2 separate regions of the Homo sapiens genome follow, and region 2 is linked to region 1. Evidence: promoter capture Hi-C in human tissues and cell types (Jung and others, 2019). All regions are on one chromosome and are shown on one strand. Each heading gives the region's core, a stretch centred on a gene start or on the middle of the fragment in contact. The rest is flanking DNA. Distances are from core to core; before and after follow the strand shown.

Evidence for each region. The method cuts DNA at HindIII sites, captures the fragments that hold promoters and counts their contacts. A contact is called where the count stands out against the background at its distance.
Region 2: a fragment that was not itself captured here is called in contact with the fragment with the promoter of DOK5 in region 1 in 1 of the 25 tissues and cell types used here (H1 embryonic stem cells).

The regions. Positions count from the first base shown.
Region 1 is chr20:54,474,197-54,481,720 of GRCh38, forward strand. It overlaps DOK5 (docking protein 5), which reads left to right and starts at 1,397. Exons shown (of 8, transcript NM_018431.5): 1 at 1,397-1,816. The coding sequence starts at 1,751. The HindIII fragment of the contact is 11,986 bases long and covers 1-7,524 here.
Region 2 is chr20:54,514,720-54,521,869 of GRCh38, forward strand. The region is part of intron 1 of DOK5 (docking protein 5); the gene reads left to right. Among named protein-coding and RNA genes, the nearest start is that of DOK5, 43 kb to the left of the region's middle. The HindIII fragment of the contact is 4,039 bases long and covers 2,326-6,364 here.

The DNA.
Region 1 (7,524 bases), core at 147-2,646:
TTCTTTAACTGAAACTCATCAAGCCAAGGTGACTAAAAGCTAATGTTCCCAGTGAGAATGGGAAGATTCATATCGTCTTAGAGTTGAAAGACCTGTGGATGTCATCAGGTCAAACAATCCACTACTAACTGAATCCTCTTCTCAATGGCTCTGAGCAGTGATCTCTAGCTTTAGCTTTGTCGCTTCCCAGTGAGTAAGAATTTTTGTCTAATTTCTGATGATTATCTTTGCCTTTGTGAATAGTGCAAATGATTAGAAAGATCTTCCTTGGAAATCAACTAGTAACCTCTCTTTCTGTGAGATCCTCTCTTCAGAAGAGGAATAGGAGAATGTTTAGGAGCAGAGCTGGGCACTACACACACCTCCCTTCAATCCTAGCTCTGATAGTGGCCAGCTGTGAGACCTTAGCAAGTCTGTAAAATGTGGATGCTGGTGCCTAATTCATTATTCCCTTAACAAGATTAGCACAATGCCCAGCACACTGGTGCTCAATGTGTGTTAGCAATTATCAATCAAGTATGCTTTAGGGAGGTAATGCAGTCAGGGGCAGGTGAGTGTGAAATTCAGTCCCCTTCTTCATCTTATTGTATAGGCAGTATCTCATAATGGCAATGAGAGCTCTATTGCCAGGCTAAGGAGGCTTAATTAAATATGGGCCTGGTGTATACATTAACAGGGCACCTACCTCAAAAAGTGCAGGGGAGTTTGAATGAGTCAATCCATGCAAAAGGCTTGGAGAGTGCCTGGCACCTAGGTGGCCATCTTGATAACCACAAGGATTTACTGAGCACTTGCTCTGGGGTCAGGCTTTGGGGACAGACAGTGATGAGGCCAAGTCTCAGCCCCCTGGGAAACACATTCCGGCGGGAAAGAGGCTGAAACAGGGAAACTGTGGCAAATGATACCAGCGAGGGCTAGGTCCCTGACACAAGGAAACCCAAGGAAGCATTTGGCTTAAGCGGTGACAATATCCCTCTCCTCAGATGCCAAGGTCAAGGCGAGCCGCGGCAACACCATCTCCCCAGACACACACGCAAAATCGGCCCTTCTCGGGGAAAGGGCAGGGGCTGAAGGGGGAGGCGGGGTGGGCGGCGGCTGGAAAAAAGTGAAATTTCCTCTCCTCCTAAAATAAGTCATTGGAGCGAGGAGAGCGAGCGCTATCTCAGTAGGCTGTGGGCGAGGTGCGGGGGTGGCGGGGGCACGCTCCGGGTCCGCCAGGAGGGGAGGGATCGGAAGGGGAAGCGGGGAGGGAAAGGTGGGTGGGAGGCGCGGGGAGCGTTCCAGGGCGGCTGCTCACGGGTGGCCGCAGCCCAGTGCTGGGACTCGCGCGGCTCCTCCTCTTAGCCCCCCACCCCTTCCTCCTCTTTCCTCCTCCTCCTTCCTCCTCCTCCTCCTCCTTCTTCTCCTCCTTCTCGGCCGGGAGGAGGCAGGGCTGGATCCCTCAGCCGCCGCCGCTCCTCCTCCTGGCAGGCCGGCCGCGGAGTCAGCTGACGCCGGCGCTCCAGCCTCGCCTCCCCGCGCCGCGCTCTGCGCTCCCCGAAAGTGGCTGCAAGCCGGCCGCCCACTGTCAGGGTTGGGGGGACAGAGAAAGTGATGTGCGCCTTCTAAAGCCTCGCCCAGCGCCGCCGAAGCAGCTTCACCTCTCCAACTTTCTCCCACCGACTGCTTGTCTTGACCCTGCCCTCCACCCTCCCCAGAGCCACTTCGGGTGCGCGCTCTTGGGTAAAGGGGGGGTCACCGGCTGTCTGGGATGGCTTCCAATTTTAATGACATAGTGAAGCAAGGGTACGTGAGGATCCGGAGCAGACGCCTCGGGGTGAGTATCGATCCTCTCCGTGTTGCTGTTCGCCGGTTCGATTGTCTCTCTCTTGAGCCAGCATCCCTGGAGGGTGGACGGAGAGTCCCCGGCCGCGCGCCGGAGAATTGCGCGGTGGCTTTCTCAGCCGAAACCCGCGTCTCCGGGGCTGTCACTGTAAGGCCAGCGTCTAGGTATGTAATGGATCTATCTTTATCTCTTGGATGACTTGGCTTTCTGATGGTGGCCGCGTGTTGGGCTTCAGTAGCCCCTGGAGCCCATCTACTCGAAATAAATATTTCTCGGTAGCCATGGAAGTTGGAGCTGAGAAGCCCGGGCGGGGGTGCCTGCCGGATGCCCCCGGTTCCCCTCTTTTCCCACTCGCCGCCAACTTAACTTTTCCGGGGGATGGATCGGCTGGTTGAGAAAGAGGACACGCATACTCGGTGTGAACGAGGTCACGAACCCTCTGACCCCAGGGAGAGATTTCTGCCAAGCGTAAGGTGTCTTTGGATCCCCCCACCTCTGTCCCAGGTGTCGTGTCAAAGGCGGTGCGGGCTGGCCTCTGGTCGGGGCCAACTTGGGTAGATACTTGAATCTGGATTTTCCGTGGTTCGAAGCCGGGGTGGTGGATTTCTGTTGCTGGAATACACCCTGGAGGTCCACGGAAGGGTTATTTACGTGGAACCTGATACCTGGCATAGCGCAAGTGCTCCCTACATATGTCCTGAAAGGAAGAATGAATGAATCTTAGGGCACTTGGGACAGATGTTGACACAGGCTAGCTCCTTCCTTAAAACTCCCTCTCTTTCGCCCCTTTCTCTCTTGGCTCTTCGCTGGAGGAGGCTTCAAAAGAGAACCTACCCTTCCTCTCCTTGGGACTGAATGATGGTGGAAGAATTCTTGAGGGAGAGGGAAGATACTGGAACGATTTTTTTATTTCCTAAAAATTTCAAACTAGGTCCCTCATTTCTCTTTGCCTCCTATCAAGTGTTGTCGCTGTTTTAGTTGATCCTGTGCGTTTGGACATAAGGGGTGAAAAGTGGGGGTGGAGAGGTGGCGGGGGCGGGGGGAGAAAATATCCTTTGGTGTAATGCCTGAAATAAGTATAATGTCAGTAATCGTGTGGAATGCCGCCATTGATAATGAGTGGTAAATTGAATAGCTTTCTTTAGAAATATGTGTCATTTGGCATCTTTCTCTTACTTGGTCTTTGGACTGTTTTAATGTGCCAGATACTTTTACTGAAAACTGAAAAGAAATTTCACAGTAGTAAACTCAGCTAGGGAGGGAAGCCCTGTGGGGAGGAACATCCGCAATTATTATAAAACTCTTGCCTAATTCGTTTTGGTCTTTTTCTTTTCTTTTTCTCCCCTGCTGGTGACCATGTTTTAGCGATTATGTCCTGTGTTATTGTGAATATATACATATGTAATTAGGGAGAAATGTAACAGAATTCACCATTTCCATCAGCTCTGCCAAAGTTTCCTTGGTTTTCTTTTCTGCTATGCAAATATTCTCATCTTCAAGAGCACCCATTGTTGGGGGTACTTTACTGAGTGACTCCCATGTAAGGGGCAAACAATAATGGGAACTTTCTATTTTTGGTATGCTTATAGGCTGGCCAAGTGTTACAATTTTAAGGGGAGTTAAGTTAAAAAAAAAAAAAACCCAGCATTCTAATTTAGCTTTACTCCATCATGTCAATGGAAGGAATTGGTATGAGACATCCATTCTGTGTTAGGGAGCATTCCAATGGGAAGAGGACATGCATTATTAATGCACAAAATATGAATTATTCATAAGGATCAGAGTTTATGCCAAATTGTGACACATGGTAATTTATTTGAAAAACTGGTTACCATCACTTTCTTGTTTGTGGTAACTGAGATTATTTTTTCTAGATTATTACAATTGACACAACATAGCCCTATGTGTGTGCCAACATTTATGGACAGATATTTGAAGCAGAAGGAACAGAAATATTTAGTTTGTATTTGTTTTATGTTTTACAGCATTTTGGATGCTAATGAGCAGTATACTTTCTCAAGATTTATTCTTTTTGTCTGTGTTCACGTTCAGACTTCAGAATATCTATTGAATTATGGTTATTGCTCATGGAGAGAAAAGGTCAAAAATATGATCAAGTAAATCTGGTCTTATTTGTTAGCATTGGTTTTCTCACCAGTTAATTTTTAAAATATTCTTATGGTATGATTTACAAAAGAGGCTGATTACATAGTTGCCAGAACACAGTGCAAACCAAAGTTTTAATGGAGGCTGCAAATATTGGTGAAGGATGCTGTACGGAATTGGCATGGGGACCCTATGTCCACAGTAAGGAATGTTAGCGGTATTAATCTAGGCTACATATAGTCTAGAACAGCATGCGACATGTATCTTCTAGGAATATGTGCCAGTCTCAAAGAGAGGTAGGGCATTTATTTTGTCTAGCACAGAGTAGACACTTGGTAAGTTCATGTTGAAATATGTGCTGAACTATATAGTGCATGGATGGTCTTGCCATTTATAACCTTTAGGAACTAATACAACAGCATTTATTAATGGAATCCAGACCATGTTTGGGACGGTTTATAATTAAATACAAAAACATTTCATGGTAAGCAGCTGTTCCTGGTGCCAAGGAATAAATGCTTCTTCAGATTTGGAGAAAGAGGAGAAGGGAACGCATTCTGCTTCTATTGCTTGTTGACCTTTGACCTTTCTTGGCCTCAGTTTCCTAGTCTGTACAATGAACACTATTTAATGTTCTTGGGAGCATTAAAGAAGATATTTGTGAAAATGCAATGAAAGTCTAGAACATTGATTCTGCTTGTATCATTTTCTTTAATCAAAGATGAGTTAGGATTGGTAGACGGATATAGGAATTATCTATTTCCTTCTCTTTCTATGTAGAAGTGTACAAAGGCATAAATGTTTATGCAGCTCCAGATTTTTTCAATGGATGAAACTTTTACAAATTATATACATATATGTGTATGTGTGTGTATTTTTATACATAGGAATAAATATATACATACAACCTATGTACATATTGTATAATATATAATATACGTATATTTATATATGTGATTTTTTAACAGGACAGGAAACATTCTAAAAACATTCCCATTCAAATGGGTCACAGATAAGTGGTCACCTTCATTTGAAATCCTAAAGAGTTTAAATGATTAAGCAATCAAATATGTATAGATTTATTCTCTTCTTTAGACATCAAAAAGCTTAATGAAATATAATTCATTTAACTCAAAAGTTTCAGTATCTTCACATCTGTATTCCCCAGCTTAATCCCCATTGTTTCCTGGAGGTCTCCAGCTGTGCCCTGGGTACTGAATTTGTTCAGGAATGTCGACGTTACTATTTGAGGGGCTGGGGGAAGGAGGGGAGCAGCTGTCCATAATTATTTGAGTAATCGATTAAATGCACTAAAAATTTCTTTTTAGGGGAGAGGCAAATCAGGCAATTTGTACAACATTAACCTGCTGAATGTGTGACTTAGATAGCATCATATAACAATTCTCACTTCGTTTCTTTCCTTGCAATGGAGATGATTTTCCAATCAATCATTGTCATGGCTTGCCCACAGTGCAAGTTTCAGAACGGAAACTCGGGTTTATTTATCTACGCACAATCCCTCAGTTACTTGCCTTTAAGTGACATTTCTGTGCTCTTGTCTACCAAGGACTTAGCAGCTTGGACCTCTTTTCTGACCTCCACTCATGTAAATTCTCCTGTCTATCCCACATCTCCACTTGGATGACTCACAGACCTGCTGCTCCTAGAGTCCTCTCCATCTTAGCCACTAGAGGTCCCAGCATTTTGGTTGCGAAGGTAAAAATCACAAGCGAACCTTGGTGTCATTTCACTCTTCTCCCCTCATCTCCCACCCCTACAGGCAATCCATCAGGAGATCTTGTGGGCTGTATCTTTGAAATATATCTAGAATCCGGCTGTCACCTCACGCTATCCACTGCTACGACCCTGGTCCGAACCCTCCTCATCTCCTCCCTGTAACATTGCAACAGTCTTCTCATTTGACTTCCTGCCTACACTCTTGCTCCCGCTAGTGCCTTCTCAATACAGTAAAGTGTTCCTTTGGAAATGTAAGAAAGGTCATGTCACCTGGCTGCTGAAGCTGTCAGAGGCGTGTGAACCAGAGCAACTCCATCTTGAATAGGAGCTGGGTAAAACAAGACTGAAACCTACTGGGCTACATTCCCAGACAGTTAAGGCATTCTAAGTCACAGGATGAGATAGGAGGTCGGCACAAGATACAGGTCATAAAGACCTTGCTGATAAAACAGTTTACAGTAAAGAAGCCAGCCAAAACCCACCAAAACCAAGATGGCCATGAGAGTGACCTCTGGTTTTCCTCACTGCTACGTGGCGCTACCCCCACCAGTGCTATGACAGTTTACAGATGCCATGGCAACGTCAGGAAGTTACCCTTGGTCTGAAAAGGGGAGGCATGAATAATCCATCCCTTGTTTAGCATATCATCAAGAAATAACCATAAAAATGGGCAACCAGCAGCCCTCGGGGCTGCTCCGTCTATGGAGTAGCCATTCTTTATGCCTTTACTTTCCTAATAAACTTGCTTTCACTTTACAGACTTGCCCTGAATTCTTTGCTGTGAGAGATCCAAGAACCCTCTCTTGGGGTCTGGATGAGAACCCCTGTCTGGTAACAAAACCATTGGTGACTTTCCATATACTGCAGAGAAGTCTTACAATGGGCCATGAGGCCCTATGCTGCCCCAGAACCCTCTCGTTCACTGTTTTCTCTGCTTGGAATATGCTGTTTCCCCAGTTACCTCCTCCTGGCTTGCTCTCTCACCTCCTTCAGCCTTTTCTCAGCTCCTACCCTCTCAATGAGGCCTTTAAGGCCTCCATCTATCTATCTATCTATCTATCAATCATCTATCATCTATCTATCTATCATCTATCTATCATCTATCATCTATCTATCTATCATCTATCATCTATCTATCATCTATCATCTATCTATCTATCATCTATCTATCATCTATCTATCATCTGTCTATCATCTATCTATCATCTATCTATCTATCATCTACCATCTATCTATCTATCATCTATCTATCTATCATGTATCTATCATCTATCTATCTATCTATCTATCTATCTATCTATCTATCTATCTATCTATATTTTTTTGGCGGAGTCTTGCTCTTTTTTCCAGGCTGGAGTGTAGTGGCGTGATCTCAGCTCACTGCAGCCTCTGCCTCCTGGGTTCAAGCAATTCTCCTGTCTCAGCCTCCTAAGTAGCTGGGATTACAGGCATGCACCACCATACCCAGCTAATTTTTATATTTTTAATAGAGACAGGGTTTCACCATGTTGGCCAGGCTGGTGTCGAACTCCTGACCTTGAGATCCACAAGCCTCGGCCTCCTAAAAGTGCTGGGATTACAGGCGTGAGCCACCGTGCCCGGCCTCAGACCACTCTATTTTATTTCTTCTCCCTCTCCTTTCCTTCTTTCCCTGCCCCTTTTTCTCCCTAGACTTATTACCCTCTCCTTCATTTATCTTTGTATTGCCTATGTACTGCCAAGGACATGTGAAGCTACATGAGGGCTGGGACTTGTTTCTCTCTTCTTTAATCATAGCTGTCCCCCAGTGCCTAGTGCAGGGCCCAGCACAGAGTGGGCATTTGATGAAGATTTGTGGAATAAATTAATGACCCCAT
Region 2 (7,150 bases), core at 3,095-5,594, 43 kb after region 1:
AAACATGTAGGTCCCTGTCTGAGGCAATTAGAAGCAAGTTCAAGGAAATCATCTTCCACTTAATCTTTGCTTATGCTGAATAGTTTGAGTGAATGATGTCACAGGGAGTTGAATTACCAAAATGCTCACCTGCCTTCCCCCATTTCTCCCTCCCTTCCTCCTTCCATCCTTCTTTCCGTCCCTCCCTTCTTCTCTTCTTCCTTCCTTCATTTCTTTCTTTTTCTTTTTTTAAAGAAAATAAATAATCTTACTGTTCTAAGGACCTAACTTCAGGCTCTGAGATATGTATTAGTTATAATTTTTTTTTTAAGGTGAAATTTCACTCTTGTTGCCCAGGCTGGAGTGCAATGGTGCGATCTTGACTCACTGTAATCTCCGCCTCCCAGGTTCAAGCAATTCTCCTGCCTTAGCCTCCCGAGTAGCTGGGATTACAGGCGCCCGCCACCACACCCAGCTAAATTTTCCTATTTTTAGTAGATACGGGGGTTTCACTATGTTGGCCAGGCTGGTCTTGAATTCCTGACCTCAGGCCATCCAACCCGCCTCGGCCTCCCAAAGTGCTGGATTACAGGCATGAGCCACCGTGCCCGGCCAGTTATGACTGATTTTATAACTGAATTATTTCTCTTCTTAATTCTGCTTCTTATAACCTAGTGGGAAACAACCAATGAACAAGATGAAAATCTAATTGAAACCACCATTTATTTTCCTGAGTCAGTCCAGGTTTGTAACTAATTTGTAGATTATCTCAATGTTGAACTTTGCTGAGTTTTGTGAGGACATGGAGATTTTATAAGCCAAGGACGTAGATATCTCTGGGAGGACATTTTCTTGTCTACCACAGTACATCTTGTTGCTATTCATTACTAAATCCTTACTTTGAGATCTTAAAACAGGGAACATCCTACCAATGTCAGTTCAGATGCAAATTTGTTTGAGCTTGTGTTCTCTCTTGATTAATACATTTCAGAGAGTTAATTTGTTTACCAAGAAGAAAATCATTTTTTTGTATTGGTTACCAATGAAAAGTGGCATAGTCCAACTAAAGAGAGTACGCAAAGATGGGTTTTGTACCTCCTGGGGAGATGCTAGCTACCCAGAAACGTAGACTAATAATAAATAAGATTACTGGCCATCAGCCGGTTTTGCCAGGTGATGGCATGAATGTTCAACGTATGCTTTTATGCAATTCTGTGATGCTGCAGTAATTGGGGAAGGCATTAGCTGACAGCAGTCCCTGATTCGATCCATCTCTTTCTGGCTCTGGTTACTTCTGACTCATAAAGTGGACAGGGAAAGCAAAAGGAGAAATGTGTATAATAGTAAAATGTTCACTTGCAGTGTGTCGTGTACCCTTAGGCTAAAGATAGACAAGCATCTCAGAATCTGGGTCCCATATTCTCATTTCCCCGTATATAATTCCTCAAGTGGGCAGAAGTGTATCTGGTTATATAATCCAGTTATAGTGGGAAGAGAAACTATGTTTAAATATGCATAGGGAGAAATCATTGTCAGCTACAGATACATATTTAATTACAGTAAGAAAAAAATATGAATTTGAAAATGATGTGGGGGTTGTTTTATTCAAATTGGGGTTCTAATTCAGTCTAAAAAAAACTGAGCAGTGTTGTTGAAATGATTGCCTCTTAGCAGATAGTATGTGTATATGTATTCTGTAGCTCTGCCTGACTTAAAGAGGCTTTTACAACAGATGGAAAGGCATAGTGAGAGAAGAAAATAATTTAAATTTAACCCTTTGTAAATACTCTAGCTTTAAGGGCATTTTGCCTTCCTTGGGTTGTGGGTAGAGTATGCTATCATATCTGAACTGTGTGTTCCCCTTATAACATCCTGTGCTAAGTGCTCATGCTCCCCAAAATTCAGGTCCCTCTAAATGATGGTGATGGGAATCCAACTCTGACAGTTTGACCCCAGATGTGTGCTTTACACTGACCCAAGATATAGCCTAGCAATATACGATGTAAAAATTAACATTAACTCATTGACTCAACTACTAAATAGGTACTAAAAGTCAAGCTTTTTGCTAGACCTGAGAATATAGAAGTTGAATTTAGCTCTTGCCCTCAAAGAATTTACAGTCTAGGGGGTAGACCTGCTCCTAAACTAGCAATTAAGTCTTTAATATCTATGCATTTATTCTGCAACACTGAATTTAAAACAGGTTTTTCTCAGAAGCAATTTTGTTTCTACAAACTGTCTCCTGGGCTCAGAGTCCCTCGTGTTACCGAGTTCCTTGAAAGCCATGCTTATTGCTTTTAAATGCAACATATCTCGGGTTGATGTTTTTGTTCTATAGTAATCCTTTCATTCCCTTTTTTATTTGAGAGTTTGAAAATAATGTTGTGTGCAAAATCCCTAAGGAATTAGCAGAGCTGATTTGATTCAAATATAACTTCCCACCCTGTGTGCAGTGTCATGCCCCTGAGTTTCATATACATGAGTTCTAACCCCTTCTTGTCTCTTGCCAAGATTTATCAGCAATTGGTTAACCTATTTGGGTTAGCTTAGCTTCATTTTCTTCATCTGAATAATCGGCATAGGTATGGATTCTCACAAGAATCAGATGCTATTTTACAGAAGTTTTATAACAAGCTTAAATTTTGAAATAAAACTAAAGCATCATGATGTAGGCAACATGGGATAAAATTGTAGCCTAACCACTGTGTATGCTGGAGTCACGCAATTTGAATTATACAGTCTTTGAGGTTTCATATGTTTTAGTTTAAAGGCTGACTTTGCCATTTGTAAGCTGGGTGGCTTTGGGTGATTTGTTTAATATTTCTCTGTTAGTTTCCTTATTAGTAAAATAAAATAATAATGTTTTCTTTTATAGGCTTTATAATAACGATGAAGGTGCTGGTGGAGATGATAAAGTGATGATGATAGTGTTGGTGGTGATGATAGTGTCTCTGCAGTGGCTGGAATATTTATGCACCCCCCGCTCCAAATTTAAATGTGGAAATCCTAACCCCCAAGGATTTGGTATTAGGAGATGGGGCCTTTGGGAGGTGATGAAGTCATGAATCACAAATAGGAGTAGTGCTTTTACAAAACAGACCCCCAGGTAGTCATTTATCTTTTCATCATGTGAGAACACAGCTAAAAGATTGCTGTCTATGGACCATGAAATGGGCCCTCACCAGATGCTGAACTTGCCAGTGCCTTGATCTTGGACTTCTCAGCCTCCAGAGATGAGCAATAAATTTCTGTTGTTTATAAGCCATCCAGTTTATGATGTTTTGTTATAGAGGCCCAAATGGACTCAGCCTTACAGTTATTAAGCCCTTCCTTCTTGCCAGTACTGTGCTGAGTACTCTACATGCATCACCTCATAGCATTCTCAGTTGCCCCCTCTGGTAGCTACTATCATAATCCCTATTTTCTTTTTTCTTTTTTATTATACTTTAAGTTTTAGGGTACATGTGCACAACATGCAAGTTTGTTACATATATATACATGTGCCATGTTGGTGTGCTGCACCCATTAACTCGTCATTTAACATTAGGTATATCTCCTAACGTTATCCCTCCCCCTTCCCCCCACCCCACAACAGGACCCAGTGTGTGATGTTCCCCTTCCTGTGTCCATGTGTTCTCATTGTTCAATTCCCACCTATGAGTGAGAACATGTGGTGTTTGGTTTTTTGTCCTTGTGATAGTTTGCTGAGAATGATGGTTTCCAGCTTCATCCATGTCCCTACAAGGGACATGAACTCATCCTTTTTTATGGCTGCATAGTATTCCATGGTGTATATGTGCCACATTTTCTTAATCCAGTCTATCATTGTTGGACATTTGGGTTGGTTCCAAGTCTTTGCTATTGTGAATAGTGCCGCAATAAACATACATGTGCATGTGTCTTTATAGCAGCATGCTTTATAATCCTTTGGGTATATACCCAATAATGGGATGGCTGAGTCAAATGGTATTTCTAGTTCTAGATCCCTGAGGAATCGCCACACTGACTTCCACAATGGTTGAACTAGTTTACAGAACCACCAACAAACTACCATCAGAGTGAAGAGGCAACCTACAAAATGGGAGAAAATTTTTGCAATCTACTCATGTAATGAAGGGCTAATATCCAGAATCTACAATGAACTCAAACAAATTTACAAGAAAAAACAAACAACTCCATCAACAAGTGGGCGAAGGTTATGAACAGACACTTCTGAAAGGAAGGCATTTATGCAGCCAAAAGACACATGAAAAAATGCTCATCATCACTGGCCGTCAGAGAGATGCAAATCAAAACCACAATGAGATACCATCTCACACCAGTTAGAATGGCGATCATTAAAAAGTCAGGAAACAACAGGTGCTGGAGAGGATGTGAAGAAATAGGAGCACTTTTACATAATCCCTATTTTCAATGAGAAGTTGAGGCTTGTGGAGTTGCTTAACATGTCCAGGATCACCTAATGCTCCAACATAAGTTTGATTAACTTTAATACTTTTAATATATATTGTGTCTCAGTTAATGTTTTATTGTGCTCTAGTAGTTTAAACTGCGTTATCTTGTATCAAGAATTCAGGTGTAATAAAGATTAAAAGGGACATGATGTATGTTTAATATTTAGCATCTGTTCCATAGTAAATGCTAAATAACTATTAGATATTTAATTGGTATTAGATCTATTTCTTTTTTAACTTATAAATTATAATAGTTATTGATTCTATTATTGCCTTTAAAATTTAAAACCATTCTGAAATGATGAAATGGTTTATTCTCCTCTATAAGGATGCAAAAGTTACTATTGCCCATATCACTGAAGATGAGGGAATGCCAAGATTTTTAAAATTTCTACAGAATAGCAAAAATAGTTTCATCATTTAGGTCAAAGTTTCAAGTTTGAGTAAGGCTTATATTCATTTTTTTCAAATAACTAGCTTGTATTTTTAAACAAATATCACTAAAGTCTATAATATCATTATCTTATGATTCAGTAAAGAAAGAGAAATAAGCTGTTTAAATATGATGCCATACAAATTCATTCAAAAGAGAATGATGCATTCAATAACTATGTTTGTGAATTTGGCTCTATGCTATGAGATACCCAATTTGTCTTATTTTATCCTTGAATTCATACTTCTTTAAGCTTCAAGGAGATGTGATGCATTAGAAATTGTAGATTATCTGTGGCAAATTTGACTCCAGGCTTTTAGTAACACCTCATTTCAAATTCTCAAAAGAGAATCCTGTTGTCTTAATGTTTTGGTCTTCGACATCCAAGTGTGTTTTAACCTCTATGGTGCACATACCTGCCCACCACTGCTCCTTGACCTGCAGCTTCACTGAACATTTGAACTCTTGTTGCAATGCTTATGTTATTGGGCCCCTCCACATCCTTGCCACAGTTGATTGAACCAAAGGCAACTCAGTAGAACACTCCTAATCCTGCCCCCTAAACCCTCCCCGTAAGTCCTTGTCATCTCAGTAAACGACATCTCCAATCTTCCACTTGCTTAGGTTATCAACCTTAAGTCACTCTTGAGTTCTCTCTTTTTCTCACATTTTATTAGCAAATTCTAAGCCCCTTATCAAATTCCATTAGCTCTGTGTTCAAAACACATCTGGATATAGTGATTGATACCCCTGTTGTTTCCACTCTAGGTCAAGATTTCATATATAATCACCTGGGCTATTGCAATCACCTTCTAACTTGTTTCCTTTTCTACCCCTGCCCATTTTTGATTGAGGTGATTTTTGAGACTGTAAGATCATACCACTCCTCTGCTCAAAATTCTGCAAGTCTTGGCCAGGTAAGGTGGCTCATACCCATAATCCCAGCACTTTGGGAGGTGAAGGCAGGAGGATTTTTTGAGCTCAGGAGTTTAAGACCACTCTGGGCAACACAGCAAGATCTCATCTCTACTAAAAATAATAATAAAAAATTATCTGGGTGTGGTGGTGTGTGCTTATAGTCCTAGCTACTTGGAAAGACTGAAGCAGGAGGACTTGCTTGAGCCCAGGAGGTTGAGTCAGCAGTGAGCTATGATCATGCCACTGCACTCCAGTCTAAGCAACAAAGCAAAACCCTGTCTCAAAACAAACCAACAAAAAACAACAAAAAAACCTACATGTCTTATATTTTACGTATAATAAAATACAGAGTCCTTCATGGCCTCTGAAGTTTCCCATGATTGTGTGTCTGCATCCTTCTGTGATGTGGTCTTCTATCACCCTTCCCTTTACTCTGTAAGCTGACTTGCTTTTTCTTAATTATGGTAGACACACTTGCCCCAGGGTCTTTGCACTTACCCTCTCCTAAGAATGATCTTTCCCTGCTTGTGGCTCGGCTTGCTCCCTTACATCACCTGGCCTTCTGGTTGAATGGTGCCTGCTTGAGGGACCTGTGAGCAACCTTCGAGGCAGCACCTCTCTCCCTCATGGCACTTACCATCTGTTATCTGGTATCATGTCACTTTTCACCAGCTGTGGTATCCTTTTTTTAATGACATGACTTCTGACATCACATTTGCTGTTCTCTTTTTCCATACCAATTCTCCAATAATAATTAGTGCTCAGCAAGTTAATTCAATGCTGGTACTAACTCCTGGAGCTTGTAGAGATCCCGCTGGTTAAAGGCTCAATCCCACAAGACTGTCCCTACTTCAGACGCCAACCACAAGGGGGTCCCAGCCTACCCACACCTGTTTAGCAGACTAGAAATTTATAGGTTCCCATTCTCAGGTTTCATAATTCACTAGAACAACTCACAGAACTCAAGAAAACACTTTACTTATATTTACTGGATTATTATAAAGGATTCGACTCAGGAACAGGCATAAAAGAAATGTATATGGTATGGGGTGTGATGTGAGGAGCTTCTGTGTCCTCTTGAGGGATGCCATCCTCCCAGGATCTCAGTGTGTTCACCAGTCTGGAAGCTCCCCAGATCTTGTCATCTAGGTGCTTTTATGAAGATTTCATTACTTAGGCATGATTAATTGAATCATTGGACATTGGTGATTAGCTCTATCTTTAGCTCCTCTCCAGCTGGGGTTGGGACTGAAAGTTCCAACTCTCCAATCACAACGTTGGTTCTTCTGCCCAGTTGAGAGTCACCTCATTATCATAAACTCAAGACTGGTTGAAAGGGGCTAGTTTTGAATCACAAGAGACACTC